Regions from separate parts of the Homo sapiens genome. Here all the other regions are linked to region 1. Evidence: promoter capture Hi-C in 16 types of primary human blood cells and fetal thymus (Javierre and others, 2016). All regions are on one chromosome and are shown on one strand. The core of a region is centred on a gene start or on the middle of the fragment in contact, and the rest is flanking DNA. Distances in the headings are between cores, read along the strand shown. Region 1 holds the start of MCTP2 (multiple C2 and transmembrane domain containing 2). Region 2 has its middle 90 kb from the start of CHASERR. Region 3 has its middle 64 kb from the start of CHASERR. Region 4 has its middle 47 kb from the start of CHASERR. Region 5 holds the start of MIR3175 (microRNA 3175). Region 6 overlaps CHD2 (chromodomain helicase DNA binding protein 2). Region 7 overlaps CHD2 (chromodomain helicase DNA binding protein 2).

What was found. The method cuts DNA at HindIII sites, captures the fragments that hold promoters and counts their contacts. A CHiCAGO score of 5 or more calls a contact.
Region 2: a fragment that was not itself captured here is called in contact with the fragment with the promoter of MCTP2 in region 1 in 1 of 17 cell types (neutrophils); the score reaches 5.4 in neutrophils.
Region 3: a fragment that was not itself captured here is called in contact with the fragment with the promoter of MCTP2 in region 1 in 2 of 17 cell types (total B cells and monocytes); the score reaches 7.5 in total B cells.
Region 4: a fragment that was not itself captured here is called in contact with the fragment with the promoter of MCTP2 in region 1 in 2 of 17 cell types (naive CD8 T cells and erythroblasts); the score reaches 8.0 in naive CD8 T cells.
Region 5: a fragment that was not itself captured here is called in contact with the fragment with the promoter of MCTP2 in region 1 in 2 of 17 cell types (total B cells and neutrophils); the score reaches 6.7 in total B cells.
Region 6: a fragment that was not itself captured here is called in contact with the fragment with the promoter of MCTP2 in region 1 in 1 of 17 cell types (erythroblasts); the score reaches 6.2 in erythroblasts.
Region 7: a contact is called between a fragment that was not itself captured here and the fragment with the promoter of MCTP2 in region 1, in 3 of 17 cell types (megakaryocytes, M0 macrophages and naive CD8 T cells). The highest score is 7.6, in megakaryocytes.

The regions. Positions count from the first base shown.
Region 1 is chr15:94,229,891-94,233,865 of GRCh38, forward strand. It overlaps MCTP2 (multiple C2 and transmembrane domain containing 2), which reads left to right and starts at 1,671. Exons shown (of 23, transcript NM_001385001.1): 1 at 1,671-1,774. RefSeq lists an enhancer at 1-65 and a silencer at 1,601-1,730. The HindIII fragment of the contact is 9,020 bases long and covers 1-3,975 here.
Region 2 is chr15:92,791,005-92,794,979 of GRCh38, forward strand. No RefSeq gene overlaps it. Among named protein-coding and RNA genes, the nearest start is that of CHASERR, 90 kb to the right of the region's middle. The HindIII fragment of the contact is 6,180 bases long and covers 1-3,975 here.
Region 3 is chr15:92,816,417-92,820,391 of GRCh38, forward strand. No RefSeq gene overlaps it. Among named protein-coding and RNA genes, the nearest start is that of CHASERR, 64 kb to the right of the region's middle. RefSeq lists enhancers at 3,818-3,975, 3,863-3,975. The HindIII fragment of the contact is 1,256 bases long and covers 1,356-2,611 here.
Region 4 is chr15:92,834,231-92,838,205 of GRCh38, forward strand. No RefSeq gene overlaps it. Among named protein-coding and RNA genes, the nearest start is that of CHASERR, 47 kb to the right of the region's middle. The HindIII fragment of the contact is 3,215 bases long and covers 113-3,327 here.
Region 5 is chr15:92,902,843-92,906,817 of GRCh38, forward strand. The region is part of intron 2 of CHD2 (chromodomain helicase DNA binding protein 2); the gene reads left to right. MIR3175 (microRNA 3175) reads left to right here and starts at 1,557; the gene lies at 1,557-1,633. RefSeq lists enhancers at 1,090-2,289, 1,151-1,330, 1,611-1,850 and a silencer at 1,401-1,450. The HindIII fragment of the contact is 5,562 bases long and covers 1-3,975 here.
Region 6 is chr15:92,972,046-92,976,020 of GRCh38, forward strand. It overlaps CHD2 (chromodomain helicase DNA binding protein 2), which reads left to right. Exons shown (of 39, transcript NM_001271.4): 19 at 220-372; 20 at 2,834-2,905. Among named protein-coding and RNA genes, the nearest start is that of MIR3175, 70 kb to the left of the region's middle. The HindIII fragment of the contact is 887 bases long and covers 1,735-2,621 here.
Region 7 is chr15:92,997,884-93,001,858 of GRCh38, forward strand. CHD2 (chromodomain helicase DNA binding protein 2) reads left to right here. Exons shown (of 39, transcript NM_001271.4): 31 at 616-738; 32 at 2,629-2,757. Among named protein-coding and RNA genes, the nearest start is that of RGMA, 89 kb to the right of the region's middle. The HindIII fragment of the contact is 3,926 bases long and covers 253-3,975 here.

The sequences.
Region 1 (3,975 bases), core at 421-2,920:
ATGATTGCTTCGTCTGCCTACTGCTCTTTCTCTTCTTCCTTTCATGCTGTTTTACCCTTACCTCTCTCTGTTCTCTGCTAGGGGATGTAACCTTCGGCACGGTGGGAAAAGCCAATTTTGCCATAGGCCTCAGCTTGCTCTGACTCGGCTACTAACTTGACTCATAGCTTCAGGCAGGTTATTTCATGGTTCTGATGCTCATTTTCCTCATCTTGAATCAGAGATTTTATTAACTGTCTCCTGGTTTGTGAAAATTCAATATGATCACGTGTTACATGCCAATCACAGAAACTGGTGCGAAGTTGTGTTCCTCAGTGGTAGCTATTGTTGTAAGTCGGAATTGCATGACAGTGGCAGCTGTTTTCTATCACGTCCTCATGTTTTCTAAATTTTTATGCCCCTTCCTCCCATTTCCTACCTTAGTATTGTTAATAGCTAACTTTTATTAAGTGGTTACCATGGCCCAGGACACTGTAATGAGGATTTTATGTGAATTACCTAATTAATTTCTCAGAAAGTATGAGATAGCTATTATTTTAAGCTATTTAAGCTATTTTAAGCTATTTAAACAACCAGTTTGTTGAAGTTAAAATTTAGAGAGGTTAAGTGAACTCGTCCATTTACACAATTAGTTGCCCAGGCAGAATTTGATTTGAGGTCTGACTCCAAAGCCGGAGCTCTTAATCACCAGTGACACCAACTAAACGCTTCATTTCAGAGCTCGCCTATTCCCAGAGGTCCCATTCCCGTTTTAAGGTTATTTTCTGTAACTCTCTTGTATCTAATTTAAAAATGCTATTTCCCAGAGATGAGTCCCTGATCTCCCAGAAGGCATGGATCATACATTTCTTTTCCTAATCCACCCAAATTCCTAGAGCGCACAGACTTAGGCTCGTTCATAGACGGGAAAAGAAACTGACCAGGCAGTGAAACCGAGCAAACAAAGTGCAATAAGACAATTACAGCAGGAAAGCGGCGTAAAAAAAAGTAGAAAAAGAAAGTAAGGGAAAGGGGAAATAAATAGCAAATATTCGCTGAGTGCCAACAATCGCACGGGAGGGTCTTTAGGGTTCTCTGCCGAGTACTCGGGACGGCTTGCTGAGCAGTACGCCGGCCTTATCTCATAGATGAGGCACCAAGGCTCAGGAAACAGTTCTGTGGATCTGGGCGGGCATCTTCCACCCACAGTCGCGCACACGTGGCATAGGTTAATAGGCTGTCTGGCTCGGGTACCTCTTCCCAGGGTCAGGGCGTTACAAAGGGAGGCTGCTGTCTTCCCATGAATCTATTAGGGACCTACAGGAGCGAAGAGAACCCTTCTGAGTATCAGCGAAGACAGCTTATTAAGACTTTACGAGTTTGCAAGCCATCCTCGTCCTATTTCCTCACTTCGGACTTTTTGGACACACCTTCCTTTTCCTGTGAGCCAACCCAAACGAATGAGTTACAAGTAATCGCCTTCTCTACGCCCAGCCAGTGCCCAGCACCAAGCATAGCGCCTCCTTGCAACACCCGGCCGAGCTCCCGGCGGCAGCGCGGGCGCTTGGGTCGGAGGCTGCTCAAAGGTGACGCGCGGCCGCCTCCTCCCCTTTAGGCGGGGCTCGCAAGGGCGGTGGGGGGGCCCGAGGAAGTCCGGGGGCCCTCGGTGATGCCCCCGCCCCCGCCGCGTCAGGGTTGCTCCCTGCGCTTCCGAGTGGCGACTGCAGCGGGTCCGGTGCAGGTGAGGGGCGCGCGCCTGCCCAGCTTTGCAGCCCCCGAACGCGGCCTCGCACAGGTGAGGGCGGTGCCGGGTTCACCTGGCAGCGCGCGTGGGCCGGGCAGCACGGTCGCCGCCTGGGGGTGGGCGTCTTCTCTCAACCGAAGCTGGGAGTTGGGGAGCTGGAGGGTCCAGGATGAGAATTCAGTGGCGCTACTACCCCGGAGCTGCTTGTGGTTCAGAGATCAGAAAGGTGTCCTGAGGACTGGAGGCAGAAATCCAGGCGTGGCGTACTGGAAGGCGCACTAGGGGAGGGCAGCCTGGCCCAGAATTTCTTTGCATTTTAAAGGCCACACATTCAGTCTCCCCGGGGCGCTACGGAGGTAGTCACCGCCACATCCAGGACTCCTTCCACAGAGGTCAGTTCCTCAGCTGGGTGGGCTTTAATACGCTCTCTTCGTAGAGACCCGGAGGTTCAACTTTAATTCTTTGCGCTGACATTTGCTCAACGACACCGGAGCAGAAATCCTTGGGATAATTGCGTAGGTAACAAACAGTGTCTCAATCCCACTGAAGATAAGTAAGTTAAAAATAAAGACAGTGATGTTGGTGGTGAACTTGAGTGGCGATTAGTTTCCGCAATTAGTTCCCTCCTGCACTGTCCATTTGTTAAGCAAATGTGCTGACGGCTTTTTTTAAATGATTGGGTTGCCATAAAAGAGGTTTTCTCTAGTCTGAATGAACTTCTGTGCGATGCTGACTGAGGGTTTCAGCCTCCTCTAGATGCTTACAAGAGCTTGGTCTGGAAGGTACAAGGGTGCGAACCCTTAAGGTACCAAGCAGCTTCTCAGTGAACCGTGAGACGTTAGAACACTTGCTTCAGGACGCACAGAATTCAGACACCACTTATTGAAGGATTTGTATGGATTATAATTTACATTAGCATTCATTTTTTGCTTGAGTCAGTAGCATTTCAATTCAACAAATATTTATTGTACACCTGTTAACGGGCAGACCTCTGAGAGCCGGGCTGGTGTGCTGTTGGGTAGCACAGGTGTTGATATTAATACAAAGGGGAATCTTAAGGCACTTATTCCTCACAGGTGGGTGTTTAGAACGAGACCAATGGTGCTGCGCTTTGCCTCAGCAGCACCTGTGTAATCGCTGGTTATAAGTATTTAAATGCAGGGAGAATGTAAATCTTTGAAGAGTCTCTGTCATTAGCCTGATCAGTCATTCCAAAGCAATAAAAATTGTCAAAACCATGCTTAAAATAAGATTATTAAGAATTAGCTCTGTGCCAAGCACCATGCTAGGCACTTTGTCTTGTCTATGAAATCTACAAAGTAGATACTATTCCCCTGTGCAGATAAGGAACTGAGGCAGAGAGGAGTCCAGTAATTTGTACAAGGTCAGTGGTGAATTTAGAAATTGCATGTGGCTATTTCTGAGTGCAGAACTCGTACTTTTTCACTATTCCATGCTGTCTCTAAGATGGAGAGTGTAAATCCGGCAGATTTAATATAAGAATTCAAATTTATATTCATAGATCCTATCTCCTGGGGATTAATGGAGTTAAAGTAGTCCTCAGGAATGAAGTGAGCACTGTTTTCATTGCACTTGTGTGGTCAAGCTGTGACCTATCTGTGACTAGTAGATGTAGCTTTAAAAGATAAAATTTATTATGTGTCTTAACATATTTTGAAAGGCCTTTCAAAATATGTTAAAAGATAAAATTTATTATGTCTCTTAACATATTTTGAAAGGCCTGATATATCCAAACAGGGCCAATTAATAAAATTGCATATATATTCTCTCTGTGTTATACATGGAAGGAACAGCTAATTTCCTATTATTGGTGTGCTTTACTATGGTCTCCTCCTGCAGAGGTGAGTTTCTCAGCTGAGTGGGCTTTGAAATCAATTTCAGCTTGATTTCTTACAGCTGCAAGATGATTAGCGGTCTCTTGTCACCTGGAAAGGACTTTGTGTTTGTGTAAACCTGTGCTCACACACGAATATATATTTTTCCTTAAACCTATTTCCAGAAGTACTACTTCTGGAAATTGTAGAGTACTGCAATGTGATGATCTGGCGAGGAATCAAGTTCCTTATTTGACTTTTGCATAAAGGATTTATAACAACTGACAATTTCTTTAAGTGCATGTAAACCAGGAAAGTAATTTTCAAATTAAAATTATTATACTGTGGAGAATGGAAAGTGAGTGAAAAATAGTACTCTGAATTCAAATAATATTTCTTGTTGTGGAAAACACTTGC
Region 2 (3,975 bases), core at 848-3,347, 1.4 Mb before region 1:
GCTTGGGTAACAGAGCGAGACTCCATCTCAAAAAAAAAAATGGTTAAGATAGCCGGGAGCAGTGGCTCACACCTGTAATCCTCCCAGCCTTTTTGGGGGTCGAGGCAGGTGGATTACATGAGGCCAGGAGTTCAAGACCAGTCTGGACAACATGGTGAAACCCTGTCTCTACTAAAAATACAAAAATTAGCTGGGCGTGGTGGTGCACACCTGTAATCCCAGCTACTCAGGTGGCTGAAGCAGGAGTATCAGTTGAACCCAAGAGGCAGAGGCAAGACTAAAAAAAAAAAAAAAAGATGCCAAGCGAGGTGGCTCATGCCGGTAATCCCAGCATTTTGAGAGGCCAAGGCAGGTGGATCACCTGAGGTGGGGAGTTTCAGACCAGCCTGACCAACATGGAGAAATCCCGTCTCTACTAAAAATACAAAACTAGCCGGGCGTGGTGGCGCATGGCTGTAATCCCAGTTACTCGGGAGGCTGAGGCAATATAATCACTTGCACCAAGGAGGCAGAGGTTGCAGTGAGCCGAGATCATGCCATTGCACTCCTACCTGGGCAACAAGAGCAAAACTCCATCTCAAAAAAAAACAAAAAAAGGTTAAAAAAATTGTTAAGATGGCCAATTGTATGTTATATGTATTTTACTACAGCTTTTTAAAAATCAATTTCCTGTATACTTATTTATTCATTCATGCATTTGTTCAATCATTCAATAAAACTATATGTGCCAGAATCACACAGAGATTTATGTAAAGACTTATCTGTGGACTAAGAAAGACAAAAGGAAATTAAATAGGCAAAGAAATGACATGAGGACATTATAGGCATTAAGTTCAGGATGTGGAAAACCAAAAAAGCTGAACCAGAGATAAGACGAAGTGAACAGAGACCAGAGGTAAAGACCTCAGGTACCCTGCTAAAGAAGAGATTCTATTCTCTAAGAAGCAAGAGCAACTAAAGATGTATGTAGCACACAGACCTCCTATCCTGTGTTTTAGGTGGGCTCTGGCTTCCACTTGGAAACTGGATTAGAGGGAGCCAGGTAGAAAGCCAGAAGGAGAGGAGACAGGAACCACAACCCTGGCAGGGCGATGACAGCCTCCATCACAGGTCGCAAACGCACATACCTACACAGGCTAGCCAAAGACATCTCCAAAGTACAACCACTCAGGCCTGTGGCAGTCTGAGATCTCTCACCTGGCCATAGTGGACATTTATTAGGGCTTCCAGAATATGAAGAGGAACCAGACACAGATCCATAGGTGAAAGGGGACTCACCATTGCCTCTTACACTGACCGCTGCCCAATTTTTGTCATGCTGGATAAAACATGAGGCAAACTGCCGGGCACGGTGGCTCACGCCTGTAATTCCAACACCTTGGGAGGCAGAGACAGGAGGATCTCCTGAGCCCAGGAGTTCAAGACCAGCCTGGGCAACATGGGGAGACTCCGTCTCTATTTTTTTTTTTTAACAACAACAAAAAAGACATGAGGCATAGAGACTAAAGCAGAAAAGAAATCCTTCTCTCCTGCTTTCTTTCAAAGGGGGAACAAGTAACAGGGAGGCTACCTCAATTTTTACCTCTCCAGAAAAAGACAGGAAGCAGGACACAGGCTACTGTAAGTCAGGGCATAATTCATTGCTCTGATGGTTCTCCAAGTGCCATCCCTGAGCCAGCAGCATTCACATCCCCCAGGAGCTTGTTAGAAACTCAAATTCTCGCCAGGCGCAGTGGCTCACACCTGTAATCCCAGCACTTTGGGAGGCCAAGGCAGACGGATTACCTAAGGTCAGGAGTTCGAGGCCAGCCTGGCCAATATGGTGAAACCCTGTCTCTACCAAAAATACAAAAATTAGCCACGCGTGGTGGCAGACGCCTGTAATCCCAGTTAATTGGGAGGCTGAGGCAGGAGAATTTCTTGAGCCCGGGAGACAAATGTTGCAGTGAACTGAGATCGTGCCACTGCACTCCAGCCTGGGCAATAGAGCAAGATTCTGTCTAAAAAATATATATATATATATATTAGGCCTGGCCCCAGCCCTACTGAATCAGAATCTCTGGGGATGGAGCTTAGGAATCTGTGCTTTAACAAGCACAGATGTAAGTTCAAGTTTAAAACTGCTGGGCCTGGTGGATCACTGCTGTAATCCCATCACTTTGGGAGGCTGAGGCAGGCAGATGACTTGAGGTCAGGAGTTTGAGACCAGCCTGGGCAACGTGGTGAAACCCCTTCTCTACAAAAAATTAGCCGGGCATGGTAGCATGACCTGTAGTGCCAGCTACTCTGGAGGCTGAGGTGGGAGGATTGCTTGAGCCTGGGAGGTGGAGGTTGCACTGCACTCCAACCTGGATGACAGAGGGAGACGCTGTCTCAAAAAAAAGGTTTAAAACCACTCCTCTTTATAATATAGTGTACATGCCACTTATGGCATGCTCCCTGATCTTCTACCCGACTTACCTGTTAAAACTAATGCTCAGGCTCCTTTGAATTTACTCTTGGTAAAAAAAAAATTGCCTGGCGGGGAGCAGTGGGGCATGCCTGTAAGCCCAACACTTTGGGAGGCCAAGGCAGGTGGATCACCTGAGGTCAGGAGTTCCAGACCAGCCTGGCCAACATGATGAAACCCTGTCTGTACTAAAAATACAAAAAAAAAAATTAGCTGGGCTTGGTGCCATGCACCTGTAATCCCAGCTACTCAGGAGGCTGAGGCAGGAGAACTGCTTAAACCGGGGAGGCAGAGATTGCGGCGAGCAGAGATCACGCCACTGCACTCTAGCCTGGGTGACAGAGTGAGACTCTGTCTCAAAAAAAAAAAATTGCCAAATTTATCTCCTCACCAAAAATTTAAAAATTTACTTGTGTGAACGTGTCACAAACACATAAAGCAAAGTACACCTGTCTCATGCATTTTATGTATATTCCATCTTATTTCATAAAACCTTTGAGGTGGTTGGTGTACAGGTAATGAATGTTTACCTTAGATTTCAAATGCACTTTATGAAGACTGTTAAAATGTTTAATCTGTAGAAGATCCAGAAGTTTGTAGGGACTTGGAGACCAGAGCTTTCTAGTCCACAAAGTCAAAAAGCCTAGGAAACATACACCAAGAGAAACCATCTATAAGAAGCCAGGCAGAGGCCGGGCGTGGTGGCTCACACCTGTAATCCCAGCACTTTGGGAGGCAGAGGCAGGCAGACCACTTGAGGTCAGCAGTTCCAGACCAGCCCAGCCAACTTTGTGAAACCCCGTCTCTACTAAAAATACAAAAGTTAGCCAGGCGTGGTGGCACACGCCTGTGGTCCCAGCTATTTGGGAGGCTGAGGCAGGAGAATCACTCGAACCCGAGAGGCAGAGGTTGCAGTGAGCCGAGATCACAGCACTGCACTCCAGCCTGGGTGACAGAGAGCGACTCCATCTCAAAAAATAAAAATAAAATAAAGAAGCCATACAGAAATCCTGTGTATCCAGGTGTCCTGGGGTCTTCAAGGTGAGGGCACTCAGTGGTCCTCTGTTGTTATATAAGAAAGAATGTGAACATTTTACTGAAATTTTAAGAACCACCTATTTTTCTCCCTGTTTACAAAATATGTCGGCTGGGCATGGTGCCTCATGCCTGTAATCCCAGCACTCTGGGAGCCAGAGACAGGCAGATCACTTGAGGTCAGGAGTTTGAGACCAGCCCGGGCAACATGGCAAAACCCCCGTCTCCACTAAAAATACAAAAATTAGTCACGGCACACGCCTGTAATCCCAAATACTGGGGAGGCTGAGGCACGAGAATCACTTGAGCCTGGGAGGCAGAAGTTACAGTGAACCAAGATCCTGCCACTGCACTCCAGCCTGGGGGATAGCGAAAGACTCTGTCTCAAAAAACAAAAACAAAACAAAATATATCTGTTGCCATTAAGGAGCGTTTTGTTCTGGCCCTCTCCAACTACTTGAGCCCAGGATTTTGAGACCAGCCTGGACAAT
Region 3 (3,975 bases), core at 734-3,233, 1.4 Mb before region 1:
CTCACTGCAAGCTCCGCCTCCCAGGTTCACGCCATTCTCCTGCTCAGCCTCCTGAGTAGCTGGGACTACAGGCACCCACCGCCATGCCCAGCTAATTTTTTTGTACTTTTAGTAGAGATGGGGTTTCACCATGTTAGCTAGGATGGTCTCGATCTCCTGACCTCGTGATCTGGCAGCCTCGGCCTCCCATAGTGCTAGGATTACAGGCGTGAGCCACCACGCCTGGCCAGAGTGATATTTATATTAATGGGAAGGATGCCTCTGATGGGCAGTCAAGGGTCTGGGTGAGGAAAGATTTTCTTTTCACTGTATACTGTTTTGTATTGTTGGGAAAATGTCTAACGATTTGCATAAATATTAAATTTTTTAATTAAAAAAAAAATCTAGCATCTCTTCCTTTGGGAAGCCCTGACTGGCCCTCTCTGTTCCTTCCAGGAGTTTCTCCTTCTTTCATACTCCCAGACTTTTCACGGTGTTTACTTGTTATATTACAGCACTTATCCCATGTGTGGAAGGTTTCCCTGGGAAACCTAGACTATCTAGAAGGTAAGATTGATACCGTATTCATTTTTATGTTCCTAGGATCCATTGCAAAGTGATACACGTGCACATACACATTTTTTTAAGTCAGTTTTAATCTCTTTACATTTTTTAAGAGTTAATGGATGGATGGCCAGGCGCGGTGGCTCATGCCTATAATCCCAGCACTTTGGGAGGCCGAGGTGGGCGGATCACCTGAGGTCGGGAGTTTGAGACCAGCCTGACCAAGATGGAGAAACCCCATCTCTACTAAAAATACAAAATTAGCCGGGCGTGGTGGCACATGCCTGTGATCCCAGCTACTAGGGAGGCTGAGGCAGGAGAATCGCTTGACTCTGGGAGGCAGAGGTTGCAGTGAGCTGAGATCGCGCCATTGCACTCCAGCCTGGGCAACAACAGCGAAACTCCGTCTCAAAAAAAAAAAAAAGAGTTAATGGAAAAAGTCTCCCATCACTGATCTCTTTCACCATCACCCTTATCCTAGTCTGCTTGTGCACAGGAGACTTTGAGCTCTATAGACTCACTTTTACAATGTCACCCCAGCCTATATTATCAGACATCTCCAGCAAACCTTCCTCCGGTGGCTCCTGCTATAGCTGACTTTTCACTATGTTTTTGTAATTTGTTGCTTTTGTCTTGTTTTGTTTTTTAAATATCCACAACGTCCTCACCCACTTCTAGCCTTTATTCATGCCGTTCTCTTTACTGAGGTCCTTCCCAACTCTGCCAGCTTAGACTCCTTTGAGACCAGCTCATCGAAGTCACTTCCTCTTTGAAGTTTCTCTGTCCCCCGCCCCTGCCATCAATCTTAGATAAGCTTAACTTGATGTTTCTGCTCTCTCTCTAATCAAACTATGTGATCACTTGTCATTTATGGCAATTATCATTTTACATGTTAGTCCTCCAGACAAAAATAAGAACCCTTCAGAGACAGGGATTTTTTCTTTGTTTATCTTACTTTTCCCAAAATTTATGCCTGGCACGCAGCAGGCACTCAATAAATAATTGTTGCATGAATGGATGAATGAACAAGTTAATAGTAAGTGCTCATAATATTTGGATGGGCTGCACTTGGAGGCCATCCCTGAAGTTACTTATTAGGGGCAACACACCTGTATGCTGTGTTTGTCACATTCGCATCTTGGCTGGGCACCTTGAACTGGAGGCTTTCTGGTGTTGTTTGCCATTCTGATGAAGGTGTAGAAACCTAATTACATATGCCCTCTGTAAGTGTGTAGACCCTTAAACTAGGATTGCTAGATTTAGTAAATAAAAGTCCAAGTTGCCCAGTTAAATTTGAATCACAAACCACAAACTATCTTTTTAAATGTATGTCCCAAATATTACTTACACTAAAAAAATTATTCAGTTTATCAAAAATTCAAATTTGACTGATGTATTTTATCTGGCGGCCTTACCTCAAAGGCCAAATTTCCAAACCCTGCCTTCTTGCACTCAGATCCTGTTCTTAGATAATTTTATGAACTATGCAATTTTATCATCTTTATTAGATAGCCAGTCCTCCAACTCTCCTTGCTTTTTTACATACATTTAAACACTTTGCTTTCTTCAAAATTATTTTATTATATTTTAAACATCAGAGTTTAGCCACTTAACAGAATTGTATTTGAGAGGGCAAATGCCCCTGTATCTTTCCGCTGGCATTCTCTGTATATTTTCTTGAAGTCTCTATTCTGCAGTACGTCTTAGTTAAAGGAAGATTATCTCCAGGTATGGCGATGGGGCTGCTGTAGGCCATTAGAAACCCTGCAGAGCTGTCTGGGCTGTAAAATGCCACTTCCCTGCAGAGGAAAGGTGGGAGTGACACTACCCAACCCGGTCTCTGCGCCGACCTAGCTTGGCAGCCATTACATATTATTATACATTAGGCTTTCCACGACTTTTGCAAAAGTTAGAGCCACCAGGTGATCTGAAAGAAGGCATTTTCAGATTTCAGTTTCTTAGTACTGGTAAATGAGCATCAAAACCAAAAATGTGGGCACCAACTGCAGCTGCACATATTTTTGTTTTACAGTCACAGTTCCTATCACATTAAATCGCGTTCCCTTGAAGCTTCAAAGTGGATGACAGTTCTACACTACAACCTTTTCATTGCACGTAATTAATTTTCCCTGTGATAAGTCGCCATCCCTTCAACATCCAAACTTGAAAATTACCGGCTAACACTGTCCCTAGGTGTCTAAACTCATGCAAAACATTTGTTTAGTACTCAAATATCACAGCTCCGCATTCTGAAAAACATGAAACGTCCGTCAGAAATTACTAAGAAGTGGTGACTGGAATTTCGGAGCATTTACGTTAGGGAAAAAAGGGATATGTTAAAAGGGGGTTGGGGTGGAGGTGCAATAAATGTGGCTGAATATGGCTGAGAAGCATGGGGAAAATGGCTCAATCCGGGAACGAAAAATCAATTTGCCAAGGCCATGATAAGACTGGAACATCTCTGTCCTCTATATTTCATGAGAAGCCATCCTGATGGCCACAGTCATGCCTGCCATCAGAGCAGGGTTCAGGAGGAGTGGACGGGTATGCCTGACAGCAGATTACAGCAAACAGACATCTACCACCGAGCAAACCATCAGAGAAGGCACCCAGCGAAGGGCTGTATCTTTCATCTTTGGAAATGGACTGAAGAGATATTTAATGTGTCAAGAGCTCTACTTCCGGGAGACCAATATTTCTTTTTTATTCAGTTATTTCAAGGAGGGCTCCCAGTAAATTTTGCTTGGTAAGGAGATTAATTTCAGAGCCATGGACTCCCGTAGGATATATCCTGGATGTTTACGTTGCAAAAACCCGGGGCATTGTTATTTATTTCTTCTGTCAGAAAAGCAAGACAGCAATAAACTACCGCTTAACTTGTAAATCACAGAAGTGACTAACCTGAACGAAAGTAATTTGAGGACAAAGGAAGAGGGATTACTTATTCTACTGTTAAGAACTGATCTACAAAGAGATGATACGTTTTCTGATCATGCTTAGCTTCTCAAATAAGTTAATTCTTTTTTCTGGTCATTCCTGGTAAGCTATAATTTGTCCATCCATTTGTCAAAAATGAGTTATCGTTGCTTCAGGACCCATTCATTTTTTAAACCTGTTACACAGTCAGTGTGACTTTGTGAAGTTGTTTCTTTTGTTCCGTTCCCGTGTTGAGTAGCTCTCTTTTGCCCGAGTCAATATTTTAGGGTTTATTTTAGTTTGGTTTGGTTTGGGGTTTTTTCTTTTTTTTTTCCCTTAATTTGAGGAAGCCTATTCTCCGACACTATTTGCCCAGTTAGAGACTACTGCTACCCTGGGAACTGTCTTCGACCTGAATTTTATTTCCTCTAGGAAGACAGGATGGAAACCCCATTTCACGTTTTGGCTTCCCAGGAGCCGCAACCCAGGCCGACCAGCGCACAGGTTTCAGGCAGG
Region 4 (3,975 bases), core at 470-2,969, 1.4 Mb before region 1:
TCCAGCTGTGATCCAGACATGGTACAGCAAAGTCAAGCTACCCTCTGCTGTGCCCTGTCTTGATTTATTTATTTAAAATTTTTTTTTTAATTTTAATTTTTTTTACTCTGTAAGCTTTGTTGGTCTTAACTGTCTCAATTCTGACCTGTAGAAACCATGAGATATTAAAAAAAGAGGAAGAAGAAGAAAATTATTGCTATTTTAAGCCACTAAATTTGGGAGCGATTTGCTATACAGGAAAAGATAACTACTATAGTAAGATTATGGTTAACTTTATGAGAAAGTACCAAACTGATTTCTTTCCTTTTTTTTTCTTTGAGGTGGAGTTTCGCTGTTGTTGCCCGGGCTAGGGTGCAATAGTGCTATCTTGGCTCACTGCAACCTCCACCTCCCGGTTTCAAGCGATTCTCCTGCCTCAGTCTCCTGAGTAGCTGGGATTACAGGCACTCGCCACCATGCCTGGTTAATTTTTTCTATTTTTAGTAGAGTCGGGGTTTCACCACGTTGGCCAGGCTGGTCTCAAACTCCTGACCTCAGGTGATCCACCTGCCTCAGCCTCCCAAAGTGCTGGGATTACAGCATGAGCCACCGCGCCCGGCCACACATCTACTTTTGATCAGAAATATTATTACCCAATTCAGAAACCAATCTTATTCACCATGATAGTTCATTGTCACATTTCATAAGACCAGCTCACCCCTACCCCTGATACTAGAATTTATGCTTATACTTCCAATATGTTTTAAAATAATTGTTACCAACTGCGTCTGTATAGTTATTATTATATATAAAGTATATAAATATAATTCTCCACATCATGATTTATCAAGTTAATTTGCAAGCCCTGAAAGAGAAGAATAAAACTGTCTATCCACAGATGGGGGATTCTTGATTCTAACTATACTATCACCTATTGACTGTTAATTAGCATTATTATTATTTCCATTAATGGAGAAATGCTATTTGTTAGGCATTTCACATATATAAACTTACTTACCACGACAACACTACGAGGTACATATTTTTATCCTCATCTTTTTCCCAGGGAAGAGCAGGATTGGAGAGTTTATGAAATTTGGCTTTGACCACACAACTAAATTTGAACCCAGTATCCTTTTATTTGATCCAAAATAGGCTTTTCTTCATTTTTTTCTAATTTTATACCACAATGTGGAATGTATTTTTGCCTGAAGTAAACAGTGGAAAATATTCTAGACTGGGATTTGGGAGATTGGGTTTTGTTCCTGGCTGTCTTACTGATCAACAGTCTTTTTTAAAGCATGTCTTTCTCTGGACTATGTTCCCTATCATTTAAAATAAAAATCACTTGAGGTCAGCAGTTCAAGACCAGCCTGGCCAACATGGTGAAACCTCGTCTCTACTAAAAATACAAAAATTAGCCAGGCGTGGTGGTGTTCACCTGTAGCCCCAACTACTCAGGAGGCTGAGGTGGAAGAATCATTTGAACCCAGGAAGTGGAGTTTGCAGTGAGCCGAGATCGCGCCACTTGACTCCAGCCTGGGTGACAGAGCGAGACTCTGTCTCAAAAATTATATATAAATAGGCCGGGCACGGTGGCTCATACCTGTAATCCCAGCACTTAGGGAGGCCAGGATGGGTGGATCACCTGAGGTCAGGAGTTTGAGACCAGCATGACCAAAATAATGAAACCCCGTTTCTACTAAAAATACAAAAAACTAGCTGGGCATGGTGGCAGGCACCTGTAATCCCAGCTACTCAGGAGACTGAGGCAGGAGAATCACTTGAACCCAGGAGGCGGAGGTTGCAGTGAGCCGAGATTGTGCCATTGCACTCCAGCCTGGGCAACAGAGCGAGACTCTGTCTCAAAATAAAAAAAAATATATATATATACACACACACACACACAAACACACACACACATATATGTTATATATATGTTATTTATATATAAATGTTATGTATATTTTATATATATATTTGTATATAAATAGAATAAAAGTTTCGTTTAAGGCCTTATTCAGTTGAAAAGTAGTACCAGGGACTGTTCTAAGCATTTCACATATATTAATTTGTGACTCATAAAAATCTGTGATATAGGTACTAGTAAAATGCCCATTTTACAAATGAATGAACCAAGGTGCAGAGATTAATTAACTTTCCCAAAGTCACAAAACTAGTAAAGGGGGTTTAGCTGTGATTTAAGCCCAGGCTGTCTGGCTCCAGAATCCACCATGTTATGAAGCGACATTTATTGAAAGCCACTGTTAAAAACAACCTTATGGTATCATTAATAACATTATTCTCTTCAATTCCACCTTCTTTCCTACTTTTTGGGTGAAGAAACTGAGGCTTAGAAAATATATCTCGGCCAGGCAGGGTGGCAAATACCTGTAATCCCAGGACTTTGGGAGGGCAAGGCGGGAGGATTATTTGAGCCCAGGAATCTGAAATCAGCCTGGGCAACACAGGGAGACACTGTCTCTCTAAAACAAATGTTTAGGCCGGGCACAGTGGCTCACGCCTGTAATTCCAGAACTTTGGGAGGCCAAGGTGTGTGGGTTGCCTGACGTCACGAGTTTGAGACCAGCCTAGCCAACATGGTGAAACCCCATCTCTACTAAAAACACACAAAAAATTAGCCGGGCATGGTGGCACACTCCTGTAATCCCAGGTACTTGGGAGGCTGAGGCAGGAAAATCTCTTGAACCAGGGAGGTGGAAGTTGCAGTGAGTCAAGATGGAGCCACCCTTCCCATTAATATAAATGTCACTCCTTTCTCTTTTTTTAAACAAATAGATGCATTTTCTATTCAGCTTTTTATACCTCCACCTGTTTTTTGTTTTTTTGAAATGGAGTTTCGCTCTTGTTGTCTGGGCTAGAGTGCAGTGGTGCATTCTTGACTCACTGTAGCCTCCACCTGCCGGGTTCATGCAGTTCTCCTGCCTCAGCCTCCCAAGTAGCTGGCACCACCATACCACGCCTGGCTAATTTTTATATTTTTTAGTAGAGATGGGGTTTCATTATGTTGGTCAGGCTGGTCTCGAACTCCTGACCTCAGGTGATCCACTATTTGACTTTCTGCCTCGGCCTCCCAAAGTGCTGGGATTACAGGCATGAGCCACCGCATCTGGCCGAGGTAAATATTTTTTAATCACAGAAGTAGGCACATACCACACACACTGTTCTGATCTTCCTTTTTATTTCTAATTAACAATATGGCTTGGAAATTATCCCTCATAATACCGAAAGCACTTTTTTAAAGGGGTGGCACAGTTTTCTATTTTAGAGATGCACCATCATTTACCTAACCATCCCCTAGGATCCCTGAGGTTGTTTCTGATCTGAAGCTTTTGACAGGCCACGCATAGTGAATCTGCTTGTGTCTTTGCTGCTGCGCCCTGTAGGCCCCTCTGAGATCTCTCATGTCATGTATGTGGGGGCAGGGAGGGGAGCTTATGGCACGTCCTTCCCGGCCAGCAAGGCATATATTACCGTAGAGTTTTCTCTATAGGACTGGAGTCAGAAAATTCATACAGCTAAGGCGAGGTATAGCTCAGAAAAAGCATCCAGAAGGCAGCTCAACCGATCAACATCAGTGACAACAGCACGAAAATACCACAAGCTTGGCCTGGCACGGTGGCTCACGCCTGTAATCCCAGCACTTTGGGAGGCCAAGGTGGACAGATCATGAGGTCAGGAGATCAAGACCATCCTGGCTAACATGGTGAAACCCCGTCTCTACTAAAAATACAAAAAAATTAGCCAGGCATGGTGGCGAGCGCCTGTAGTCCCAGCTACTCTGGAGGCTGAGGCAGGAGAATGGCGTGAACCCAGGAGGCAGAGCTTGCAGTGAGCCGAGATCACGCCACTGCACTCGAGCCTGGGTAACAGAGCGAGACTGTCTCAAAAAAATAAAATAAAATAATAAAAAAAAGAAAACACCACAAGCTTTTCCACCATCTCTAGCCAAATATGCCACGGTCATCTTTTCCA
Region 5 (3,975 bases), core at 890-3,389, 1.3 Mb before region 1:
CTTATGCAAGGTTTGTGGTTAACATCATTGATCAGACTGTGCTTTCTAATTCTAAAAAATTGAGCAGTGTTGGTATTCTTTCAGTATTTTTACTCTCACCTGGAAAACTACCTGGAAGTTGTCAGGCATTTGCTTACTGGTAGTGGAGGTTACAGCTGTACATGAAGCATGTACTGACTGTACTTTTAAATTGGTTTGTCAAGTATACTTTGAATCATATACCTGATGGATGTCCAAAAATATTTAAGACTCTTTGAAAAGAAGATAGTTACTTTTAAATTAGTTACCCTAAATTTCATATCTTAATACATGTACATAATTATGACATCACTTCCTTTTAAAATGTGCAGCTGTAGAATGTTAGTGGTGTTTTAATGTGGTAGATTAATATTACTTCTACTGAGCTGAACTGTCCCTGTAATTAGTACTTGGTTCCTTCTGCCATCAGAGTTTTTATTGCCCAAAGTATAGTGTTTAGGGAATACTACGAAAATCACCTTTGCAGCCTGAGCCACAGAAGAGGAAATGAGTTTGCAGGTCAAGTAAACTTTGGTCTGAGAATTACTTTAGTATCTGGAAAGAATGAGTGCAAGTTTAGGTAAATCTGGTAATACCCTGTTTTTGGAAATAGTGCAGTAGTTAATAGTGGTTATATAAGTTTGTATTTTAATTTGAAGTTAATGCTAAAGTCTGTTATACTTTATCACGATTTTTGAAAATTAAAAACTTTAAAAAACGCGATTTTAAAAACATTTGATTGATATTTGTAAAATTTCTAAGTATTTAAAACAAAGTTCTAATGATGGACATACGAGAAGTATACCATACTTTTTATCTGAATAATTTGCAGCTTGGGGATAACTTAAGTAACATCAAAGAATGAAAACGGGACTGTGTGCACACAAAGAGTTCAGTGTGTTCTCCACGGCACCACGTTAGCAATTTATCTTAAGAATTGAACGAGTTTATTAAATTTATCTCCAAATCGTCTGCCTTTGAGCCAGATTTATTTTTATAACCTGAGGTGCGGGTAAATCCTACAATTTTCAGGGGCGCTTTACCAGATATTCTAAAAGGCTGGGGATGATTAGAAATGGCATAATGCAGTTACTTGTGTACTAGAACAGGCAGTTTAACTGGCAGCCATTTTATGACGCTGATAATACATTAAAAAACGGGATTTTGGAGAAGACTGAATCTAAACTAATAGAAATCTGAAATACCAAAGCCTATTTCCTTCCCCCTCTCTGCTCTTCTGGGGAACTCTGGTGCCGACATAAAAGGCAGTTCGATAGGGCACGCAGCAGCTCTTTGAGCCCCTGGCATCTTGATGCAGGTCCAGCTCAGTCACAAAATGGCTGTTCCTTTGTGCCGCAGCGCTGACAGACATACTGCATTGCACTGTGTACTCGCCAAACAGCAGGAAGTTGCCGTGCCGAGTTCAAAGGCCGGCCGGCGCCGGCGCGGGGTGCTGATTGGCTGTGCGCGCGCCTGGTAACAGCAGGGTCAACGGCGGCGCCTTCGGCAGCCTCCGCCCCGTGACGTCAGACGGCTCCCCTGGGGGGCGGGGAGAGAACGCAGTGACGTCTGGCCGCGTGCGCATGTCGGGCGCTTTCTCCTCCCCCTACCCAGGGAGCCGCACGCCGAGGGGAAAAGGAAGGGAACTCTAGTTGGGACTTTCCGGTGGGCGGCTTCTTTCCTGGACGCGTTTGCTCCTGGCAGTCTTGTCCGCCCTTGCCTGTAGCGGTCCGCACCCTGTAGTGTGTTCTTTTGCCCATTTCCGGGAATGGTTTATCCTCTTTGAGAAGCGGCTGCTTTTGGAGAAAAAGTGCAGGCACTATTTATAAATTTTAAAGGCACTATTTGGAAATCTTAAAATAGAAAATTTGCCCAGTTTTACATTTTCCCTTTTCATACCTTAGCGTCCCTTCTCCCCGCCCCCGTTCAGTGTGAAGAGATGAGTGGGTTTAATTTTGTTACAATTGACCAAAACGTTTGAGTGTCAGAGGCGGATACTTTTATTTTAGTGAAAACCTCTTGACGGGTGTTAACAGCTGTTTAATACATGGCTCATAAACAAAGGGAAGATTATTTGAACTTGTCCCCATGCGTTTTTACTTGGTACCGTACATTTTCTCAGTTGGCATTTGATGGAGAAAAACTCAGGTCAGTATGTGCTAAGTACTATATATTTAAGATTCACAGTGGGATAGTTTAGTAGAAAATAGAAAATTTCACGTTCAATAACATTAAAAAGTGGCAGAATACAGCGTTAGGCAACCATTACTATGTAAGTAAATGTCAGAAAACTACTCTTTTAAGTGTTAATAGCACTTGCTAATGCAGGGTGACTGACAGCTTGGCTGATAGTGGGGTCACTTGGCCAAATCTTCGCAATTATCTTCCCTAGGCCTCCATTTCGGGAATTCTGAGTCCCGGTAAACGGTTGGGTTTATGCTCACTGATTTGCCTTGTTTGGAAACCTTTACAAGGATTTCTGGTTAAAACTTCATCGTTCAGCAACGATGTCTTAATAATTAAATTACACATACTGAATTTAAGCAAGCAAGAAATTCAGTGGATTTATCTACTGTGGACAAAGTTTTTTTCCTGCCATACTAGAGTTTTTTTAGCAGTTGGAGTAGGCTGTCCTGTAGTTAGCCATAGTTTAGAGTTATTTTAGTAAAGTGTGTTACTTCAAAGGAGATGTTGACCCTTCAGTGCAGGTGATATTTGCTTGGGCGTATGTCAAGTTTCTGAATACAGTCTGTGAAAGTTAGAATTCACTATGATAGTGAGTTTTGTAGGTTCTCATAATCTAGGTTCTTTGGGAAGAATTATTTGGATAGTTTGTGAAAACTAGCTGAAATTGCTTTTTCTGTTACAGAGAAGTGTTCATCAAATAATTTGTACCTGATTTTAAAATTATATGCTCAAATGTATATTGCGTATAAAATGCTAACAGAGAATTAAGTGTTTATAGAACTTGATGAACGTTTAACTGTAGCTTCCAACTTAAAGTATACCTGCCACAAGAACGAAAGTAATAATCTCACCTCCCTTTTTGTGTAGAGACTGAATTCTAATTAGTTGTGTTAATAGTATTTGCTGAATACCTTTCAATTCCTAAAACTGGGGTCAAAGTAGTCAACATTGCAGTTAATTATTTTTGAAGAGGATATGAACTATTCTGTTATTTAAGATATTTTAACCTAAATACCATTATGAGTTAAAATGCATACCATGATATAACAATTTACCTATTAACTGTTGACAATCTTGCAGCCAATTAAGTTTTTTATAGAACCAGTGTTCTTAGGTATGTTTGTTGAGCCTTCTACTTTTTTTCCCTTTGATGTGGGGAATAGCATCAAGCAGCAAGAAAAGAGTGTTGATCGATTTCTCTCTCTTTCTCTCTCTCTCTCTGTATCCTTGCCGTTTAAAATATGCACTTTCCAACTAGTATTTGGCCGTTAGGGAGTTAGTATCTTTGTAAAGATTAAGTCAGCAGAGGAAGGTGGGCAAATAATATTTTTGATAAAGACTTTTGGTTGTGACAGTTGTAGCAAGTTATTGCTTGAGGAGTGAATCTGGAAGTTTATTTGAATTTTAACTAAAACTCACAGATTTTATCATTAGTTTACTCTCCCTTACCCCCAAATAAAACAACTGACAGTTATGAGAGACCTCCTGAGACCACCTGGTATTTCCAAACTCCTATCATTTCTCCCATAAAATTTGATACACTAAGTTTGTTTCTGGTATAAAAATTGAGTGACTGCTCTGTGTCAGCCATTAAATTTTTTCTTGCTATGAGCCATCTTTTTTTTTTTTTTTTTTTTAAGATCCTTTAGTTTTTAGCTGCTTCTTGGTAACCTTAGAACTTTGCTTCCTTGAAGAACTTGGCTTTCTTGATATGGTGTCACTTGAACAAAGAAACTTAAAAAAAAATTCCTCTAAGAGTATTTTGTGTAC
Region 6 (3,975 bases), core at 928-3,427, 1.3 Mb before region 1:
AAAAATGGGAGAGAAAAGGTAACTAAGAATGATTTGGAAAGTAAAGTATAGTATCAACAGATACTGGGAAAAAGAACATTTCGGGAATTGCTGGTCAAGCAGGTTGCTAAGGGCTTCAGAAAGCTTTAAGATGATTTTTAAAATATGGATTTGTAGAGATTAGGGAAGATTAAAATTTGTGTTTCAACATAATTATTGGAATGTCTTTTAAATCTTCAGTCCCTCATAAGGAGCAGTGGGAAGTTGATTTTATTAGACAAACTGTTGACAAGACTTCGAGAAAGGGGGAATCGAGTGCTTATCTTCTCTCAGATGGTGAGAATGTTGGATATCCTGGCTGAATACCTAACTATTAAACACTATCCTTTCCAGGTAAGGTGATTTCAGTAATTGCTGTGGGGGGAATCAATCTCTCTCTCCGCCTCCCCTCCCCAACCTTCCTACACTGGGTTGTATGCTTTGCTTGTTAAAGTAGGAAGTAAGAGTTTTCTTGTTTCAAAGAAGTTAAGGTTAAGATTCCAGGGGGCCGGGCGCGGTGGCTCACGCCTGTAATCCCAGCACTTTGGGAGGCCGAGGCGGGCGGATCACGAGGTCAGGAGATCAAGACCATCCCGGCTAAAACGGTGAAACCCCGTCTCTACTAAAAATACAAAAAATTAGCCGGGCGTAGTGGCGGGCGCCTGTAGTCCCAGCTACTTGGGAGGCTGAGGCAGGAGAATGGCGTGAACCCGGGAGGCGGAGCTTGCAGTGAGCCGAGATCCCGCCACTGCACTCCAGCCTGGGCGACAGAGCGAGACTCCGTCTCAAAAAAAAAAAAAAAAAAAAAAGATTCCAGGAGGGTCTTAATTTTTACTTGCATGCCTTTAGGCTACCATATGAAAGTGGTCATGAGGAGACGATTCTTTTTTTGAAGGTGGGTGGGGAGGATTAGAGAAAGTCAAACGGGGCAAGATAAAAAAAGGATGTCAGATGGCATCTTATTGCATGTGTATGGTGAAAGTAGAGAGGAAGTAAGTGTGAGCTCAATTCCAGGAGCCCAAATCCTAGAAGGAGAGGGCAGTATCAGACATTCCCCCCAAAAGTTGACCCTGGCTGTGAGGCTGGGAACATAGCAGAACACTGCTACTTAAAACCTTGCTACTCCCTGAAGTAAGTGATGATGGCTTCCCCTATTTTCTGTGGAGTTCCTTAACTGGAGTTACTGTCTTCACACAGTTATCTCCTATGGGGAAAATTTCTTCCGCATAGTAACATTTTTCTAGGTGTATATAATCTAGTAGAAACTTATTCTCTGATCTATTTATAGACACATAGACATATACGCAATTTACCTTGTCTCTTGGCATGTTTATAGTGCTTTGATTTTTAAGATTTATTACATTTTTTTTAAAACTTTGAATGGATGAACTCTTCTACCAACTCACATAATTATGTTGGGATTGAAGAAACTTGGACCAATGATTATCTCCTAAGAAGGCCCACCTTTGAGACTATCAGATTGATTATCTTTCAAAATACCCTGAAAGGCATTGTTATATCCATAATATCTTATATGGTCTTTCAGTTGCTGTCTTAGAATATAGCTTAAGGCTGTGCTTGTTATCAAGAAACAGCCTATTGCAAAAAGTCACTTCTCTGTCAGTGAATCGAATCCCTATGAGCTTTCATTCCTAGGAAATCCCGTGATACCAAGTAAATCAAGAATGCATCGTTTTTCTCTCTAGGGAATAGATAAGCTTGGTCAGTGACTTTTAGATAATTAATGCCCTCTACTAATGGGAATATTAAAAGGCGGCATTAGGTTTTCTGATTTCAAGTAAAGGCTCTGAATCTCCCATTGAATACGTCTTCGGTTTAAGGCTCTGAGTAGAGTAGTCAGTGAGAAAGAAGTAAGGGACTCCTCACCTGTCAGTTGACTTGAGTTAGGTCTGGTGGGCAGAGTTCTGGGTATGTAGGCCCTTCCACAGAGTCTGCTGCCAGCCAAGTCACCTTTCAGGTTAGTTTTGCCTTCTGTAAAATGAAGTATTTTGTTCATCTCAAGTGGTGATTGTGAGGGGATGAAATGCAAAAATGATTTTAAAGAGTAAGAAATGCTTTATAAAATGTACAGCATGCAGGTGATAATTCTTTAGTATTTTATGTGTCAATGGTTTCTCTATGGTGACATTGTATTGCATGTAGAACTGACATATGTTCTAATAAAGGAATTGTGTATGCTAATAAATGCCAGGGGCTTTCTTGAATTCTCATGTAGTTTAGCTGCTTGAACACTTTACTATGATTTCAGAGTGTAATTTTTGGCAAAGCTGGGATATATGATCAATTTTAACATTTTCAATGATTCAGCAAAATGTTTTTCAAACAAAATTATTATATAAATAAATTTTTGGTTTGTGTGACACTTTAAGTGATAGTTTTAGCCACATTAGCTAAGAAGCATCATTTTTCTGCAGGAGCTTATTATTGGGTGACCCGTGGTCCTATTTCCTAATCTCTGCAGTACCTACAGAAACAGAAGTAAACCCAGCCTCCAAGCACAGGTTGGGTTTTCGTCTTTCTCCTTTTAGGTCCTGGCAGCCATTCTGATCCTTGGCTAAACCTGGACAGCCCTTTGAATCAGAAGCTTGTAACCTTGAGTCTGTAACTGGAGAGCTCAGGTCGAGTAGGGTAGGGTGTGCTTCTTAAGCACAGCTTCTTCATAGCGCTTTGCCAGTGCTTTGCAGTTATTTTTACTCAGTGGGTGTTCAGGTGATAAAGGTTCCAAGTCTGCTGTTCTATTCTGAGTGTAGCTGATCTTCCTATCTTACAGTTTTCTTGTGGTTTATTTTTACAGCGTCTGGATGGTTCCATCAAGGGAGAAATCCGAAAACAGGCACTGGACCACTTCAATGCAGATGGGTCTGAGGTATACTATGCATGGCTTTGTTATTTGAGCAACTTGGGCTCTGCATCAAGGGGAAAGTCTCTCTCGCTTAATGTATTCTGTTTCAGAAACAATTTATAGTGCAATTCTTTTGCCTTGAGAAGAAAATGAGAAATCTCTCATATAAAAGATGGTGTTTTGTTGTCACTCCAGAAAAATAAATATGTGCTTATTTATCTCCCCTGTTCTGGGTTGACAACAGAGTGGTTCTCCTGGTAGCTTCCAGATACCAAATCCTTGGGCGTGGAAGAGCAGTAAGGCAGGAGTAGGGGAGAGTTGGGCAATAGAATTAATATAAGAAGGTTCTGATCTCTGTACTCTTTTGGTGACTAAGTCCTGAAAAATATATTTGCCATGTCTCAAATTTGTTGGACTTCTGATACAGTGTGGCTTAATGTTCTTGCTCTCGCTAACAGCAACATTTTACAATCAGTGTCGAGCTTGGATTTGGCATTATGAAGTATTTTGTTTGGGGGGCACATATAGAAGAGCTACTTAGGATGAAATAGAAGGTATGACAACATTGTAGTTTGTGCATATCAAATCATCAGATGCCATGGGATTTGAGAGAAGTGGGAGAGAAAAGTTTTGGTGTGAATAAAACTGTAATAATGTGTAGAGCTAAAGGAAGCAGTGGAGACAACCTGAAGTAGAAGTGTTTCACAGAGAATGCTAATTTCTGGAGCCTGAGCCACTACTTTTTTTTTTTTTTAAACAGATAGAACAGACTTAGCTTTCTGAAGAGCTTTAAAAACTCTTGATGCCTGTGCCTGTTACTACAGAATGCTCTGCTGTCTGCCTTTAGAGTGTAGAAATCCTAGTTAGACTAGTATTCTGGCTACTTCTGTAGTCTAAACATTTACTTCTTGAGGGGCTTGGGGCATTAATCTATTCAGAGCCAAGGCTCTCGTTCATTAAGGATAAGAGGAATGGAATAATTAAAGACATCGGTCATCAACTAATTCCCATTCCTCCTTTCCTTGCTCCTTGTTTCCTCAGCTGTAAAATCACAATGATTCTGATACCCCACTTCATAATATTGCTCTGAGGAT
Region 7 (3,975 bases), core at 966-3,465, 1.2 Mb before region 1:
ATGGTTGGAGCTATAAGCAGGGAAGGCTGACTGGCTCAAATTTTGGTAGGATTTGCTCCATGTTGTGCTCCTGGCAGTTCAACAGTGCTCATCCCATCTGGTTTTAGGAGGGTGACAGCACCCTGCCTTAAGCACTGAGACCAGATTCAGTCTGGCAAGAGACCCAGTTGTTGTAGCAAGGAACAGATCATGTCCTGGCGTAGCTCAGTGCTCTCCGGCAATGCTCTAAGAAGCATTTTCAATCTAAAACGAAGCTTTAACCTAGCTCCAGGGATTCCCTGCTCCTGGAAGGAGGAAATCCACGACGGCTGGGATGCTCTAGCAGATGAAGCCACAAGCCCCTCCTACCTGAGTTGTTCTACCCTGTTAACAGCACAGGTAGGAGCCATTGGGAGAGCTGGATTTCTCCATCCCATTTTGTAAAATGAGAACGGCTCGTGAGGGATTTTCAGTGACTGGGAGCCATGGACATGAGATAGGATCTGAGGCTTTATCTATATTTTGGGTGGTTGGGGAGGGAAAGGACTGTGCTCAGTTTTTGTTGTCTCTGTTTATCCTGATCCACTAACCAGGATGTGGGTGGTGGCGGGTGCTTCTCTTCCTTTCTTGTTGAAGATTCTGCCGGTGGAGACAGATAAAAAGCCTCAGGGGAAGCAGCTACAGACCCGAGCGGATTACTTGTTGAAGCTGCTCAGAAAGGGTCTGGAGAAGAAGGGGGCTGTGACAGGTGGGGAAGAGGTGAGTACGCTGCCAGCTGGTTGTTTTTCAGGGGCCTGAGGCTCCTACCCTGCAGAATTAGGTAGGAAGAGAGAGGCCCTCTCTGAGCACTGCACAGAATGTCACCTTCTCATGGGCATATTTTGTTTTTGAGGTTCCAGTAATGATGCTTTGCTTGGTAATAATAGAAATGTTCATTTAGGCCTGGCGCAGTGGCTCATGCCTGTAATCCCAGCACTTTGGGAGGCTGAGGCGGGCGGATCACAAGGTCAGGAGATTGAGACCATCCTGGCTAATATGGTGAAACCCCGTCTCTACTAAAAATACAAAAAAATTAGCCGGGCGTGGTGGCACACGCCTGTAATCCCAGCTACTTAGGAGGCTGAGGCAGGAGAATGGTGTGAACCCGGGAGGCGGAGCTTGCAGTGAGCCGAGTTCGGGCCACTGCACTCCGGCCTGGGCAACAGAGCGAGACTCCGTCTCAAAAAAAAAAAAAAAAAAAAAAAAAAAAAAAAAATTCATTTAAGACCACGGCATCTTGGCAGCTTTCTTACAAACCCATCCTTCTGAAATGTTGCTTCAAATTCATCCTCTGCTCCCCAGTCCCACTATTCCACACATACTGTTACTGTTTCTTTATCCTACTTTCTCAATTTTGGAACATAGTTGCAGTTACTGCATTGAATACCTGTGGGTTTGCCTGTTGTTCTGTCTGTCTCTGTGGTTCTTGTAATAGTGGATCCCAGAGATAAAATGGACAGTTGTAATGCACAGTTAATTCAGAAACTAGACCTTACTTGCTGTGTGAAATACCAACTAAATTCTCAGTGAACTCAGCTGAGCTTTATCTCCTTTTGTTTCCCCAATTTATAATTTCAGTTCAGGCCCAGAAAGATGGAATCCCAGCTAAGAAATACAAGTTACACCCTGTACTAGCAGCCCATGTGTGCATGTTCTTTAAGTGCTCTTGCAGCTATGTCATTTATATTGATTTCCCTGTATTATTATAAGCAAAGCAAATTTGAGGAAAAAAACCCATAATACCACACCTCATTTTTTTCAAGTAATAGGGTCATAAGTCTCATTCTTCATATAATATGTTGAGTATGCAATATATTATGTGTTAGGCTCTGGAAAGGCAGAGGTTAGATCATGTTACAGATCATATCTGATTAGGCAGATAAACAGTATTTTAACCTTTTCCTTATTATATGTAACTTGCTTTCAGGTTTTTTAATGTTACTATTATGTCTTTAATATATTATCTTTATTTGTACTTTTGTATACAGAGTGATTTTCCTTTTTTAAAAAAAATTGTGTCTTTAGGATGGATTCCAAAGATGTGGAATCAGTAGGTTTAAGGAATATGGATATTTTGGCTGGCAAGGTGGCTCACACCTGTAATCCCAGCACTTTGGGAGGCTGAGGTGGGTGGATCACCTGAAGTCAGGAGTTCGAGACCAGCCTGACCAACATGGCGAAACCCTGTTTCTACTAAAGACACACAAAAAATTAGCCAGTGGTGGTGGCATGTGCTTGTAGTCCCACTTAGCTACTCGAGAGGCTGAGGCAGGAGAATCGCTTGAACCCGGGAGGCAGAGGTTGCAGTGAGGCAAGATGGCACCTCTACACTCCAGCCTGGGTGACAGTGCAAGACTCCATCTCGGAAAAAAAAACGAAAAAGGAATATGGACATTTTAATGTGGTATAGGCCATGTATAAGGCCTATAGGTTTTTATTTGTTTTGGTTTGGTCTTGTGAGGTAAAATGAGTTGCACTCTTTTGATTTCTTTGGAATTTTCTTGTTTGAATTATATGGCTGCTACTGCTTTAAAGAGTCATCATGTTGTTTGGTTATGCTTTTGAGTGTCTTGATTTGTATTTTAATCATCATTTTCTCTCCTTTTCCAGGCCAAATTAAAGAAGCGGAAGCCTCGGGTAAAGAAGGAAAACAAAGTGCCCAGGCTGAAAGAGGAGCATGGAATTGAGCTTTCATCTCCTAGGCATTCAGATAATCCATCAGAAGAGGGAGAAGTGAAAGTATGAAGTGGGGTTTCGGTTGAGGGTTATTTATTTATTTTAGCTATACTTATCATGCCAGCTGGAATAAAATCATCTGAAATGTGTTTGGTTTACGAGTGGATTAAATGGAAATAGAATATGTAAGTCTTCGCTTAATCTGTCAGCGAGGATAGTTTAAGTCAGCAACTGCAAATTTGTACATAATGGAAGTAAATGAAGGGGACTATGACATTTTTGTTGTTGTTGTTTGTTTGTTTGTTTTTGAGATGAAGTCTCGCTCTTGTCCGCGAGGCTGGAGTGCAATGGCACAATCCTGGCTCGCTGCAATCTCTGCCTCCCAGGTTCAAGCAATTCTCCTGCTTCAACCTCCCAAGTAGCTGGGATTACAGGCACCTGCCACCACGCCAGGCTCATTTTTGTATTGTAAGTAGAGATGGGGTTTCACCATGTTGGCCAGGCTGGTCTCAAAACTCCTGACCTCAGGTGATCTTCCTGCCTCGGCCTCCCAAAGTGCTGGGATTACAGGCGTGAGTCACCGCGCCCGTCCTAAAGTTTTAATGATAAATGGCGATTGACACGTAGCCTCATTCTTGCAAATGACGGGGAGTGGTCAGGACTGTGGTTAACCAGAGAGCTCATGCCTAATGTAAAGGGGGCAGCTGCTATGGAGTTCTGTTAACAAAACTCCTGTGGGTCAGGTTTGGCTTGCCAGTTTGTAACCTCTGGTCTAAGTAAAGTGAATAGTAAGTTGGTATCATTTAGTGTGCTATTTCAGTGACAACTTTATGGAATTTCTGAGAGTGTAATTGTACTTGGATATTAGCTCCAAGAGGATCAGCAGTGTGTACAGGAACTAGCATGGATTTGAGTCATACATACAGATATTTATTTATTTATTATGAGTTGCTTTTTGAGATGGAGTCTTGCTTTGTCACCCAGGGTAGAGTGCAGTGGCGCGATCTGGGCTCACAGCAGCTTCCACCTCCTGGGTTCAAGTGATTCTCCTGCCGCAGCCTCCCAAATAGCTAGGATTACAGGCACCTGCCACCACACCTGGCTAGTTTTTGTATTTTTAGAAGAGACAGGGTTTCACCATGTTGGCCAGGCTGGTGTCAAACTCCTGACCTCAGGTGACAGGTCTGCCTCAGCCTCCCAAAGTGCTGGAATTATGAGCATGAGCCACTGTGCCTGGCCAATACATACGTACATTTAAATACTAGCAACCTAATCAGTTAT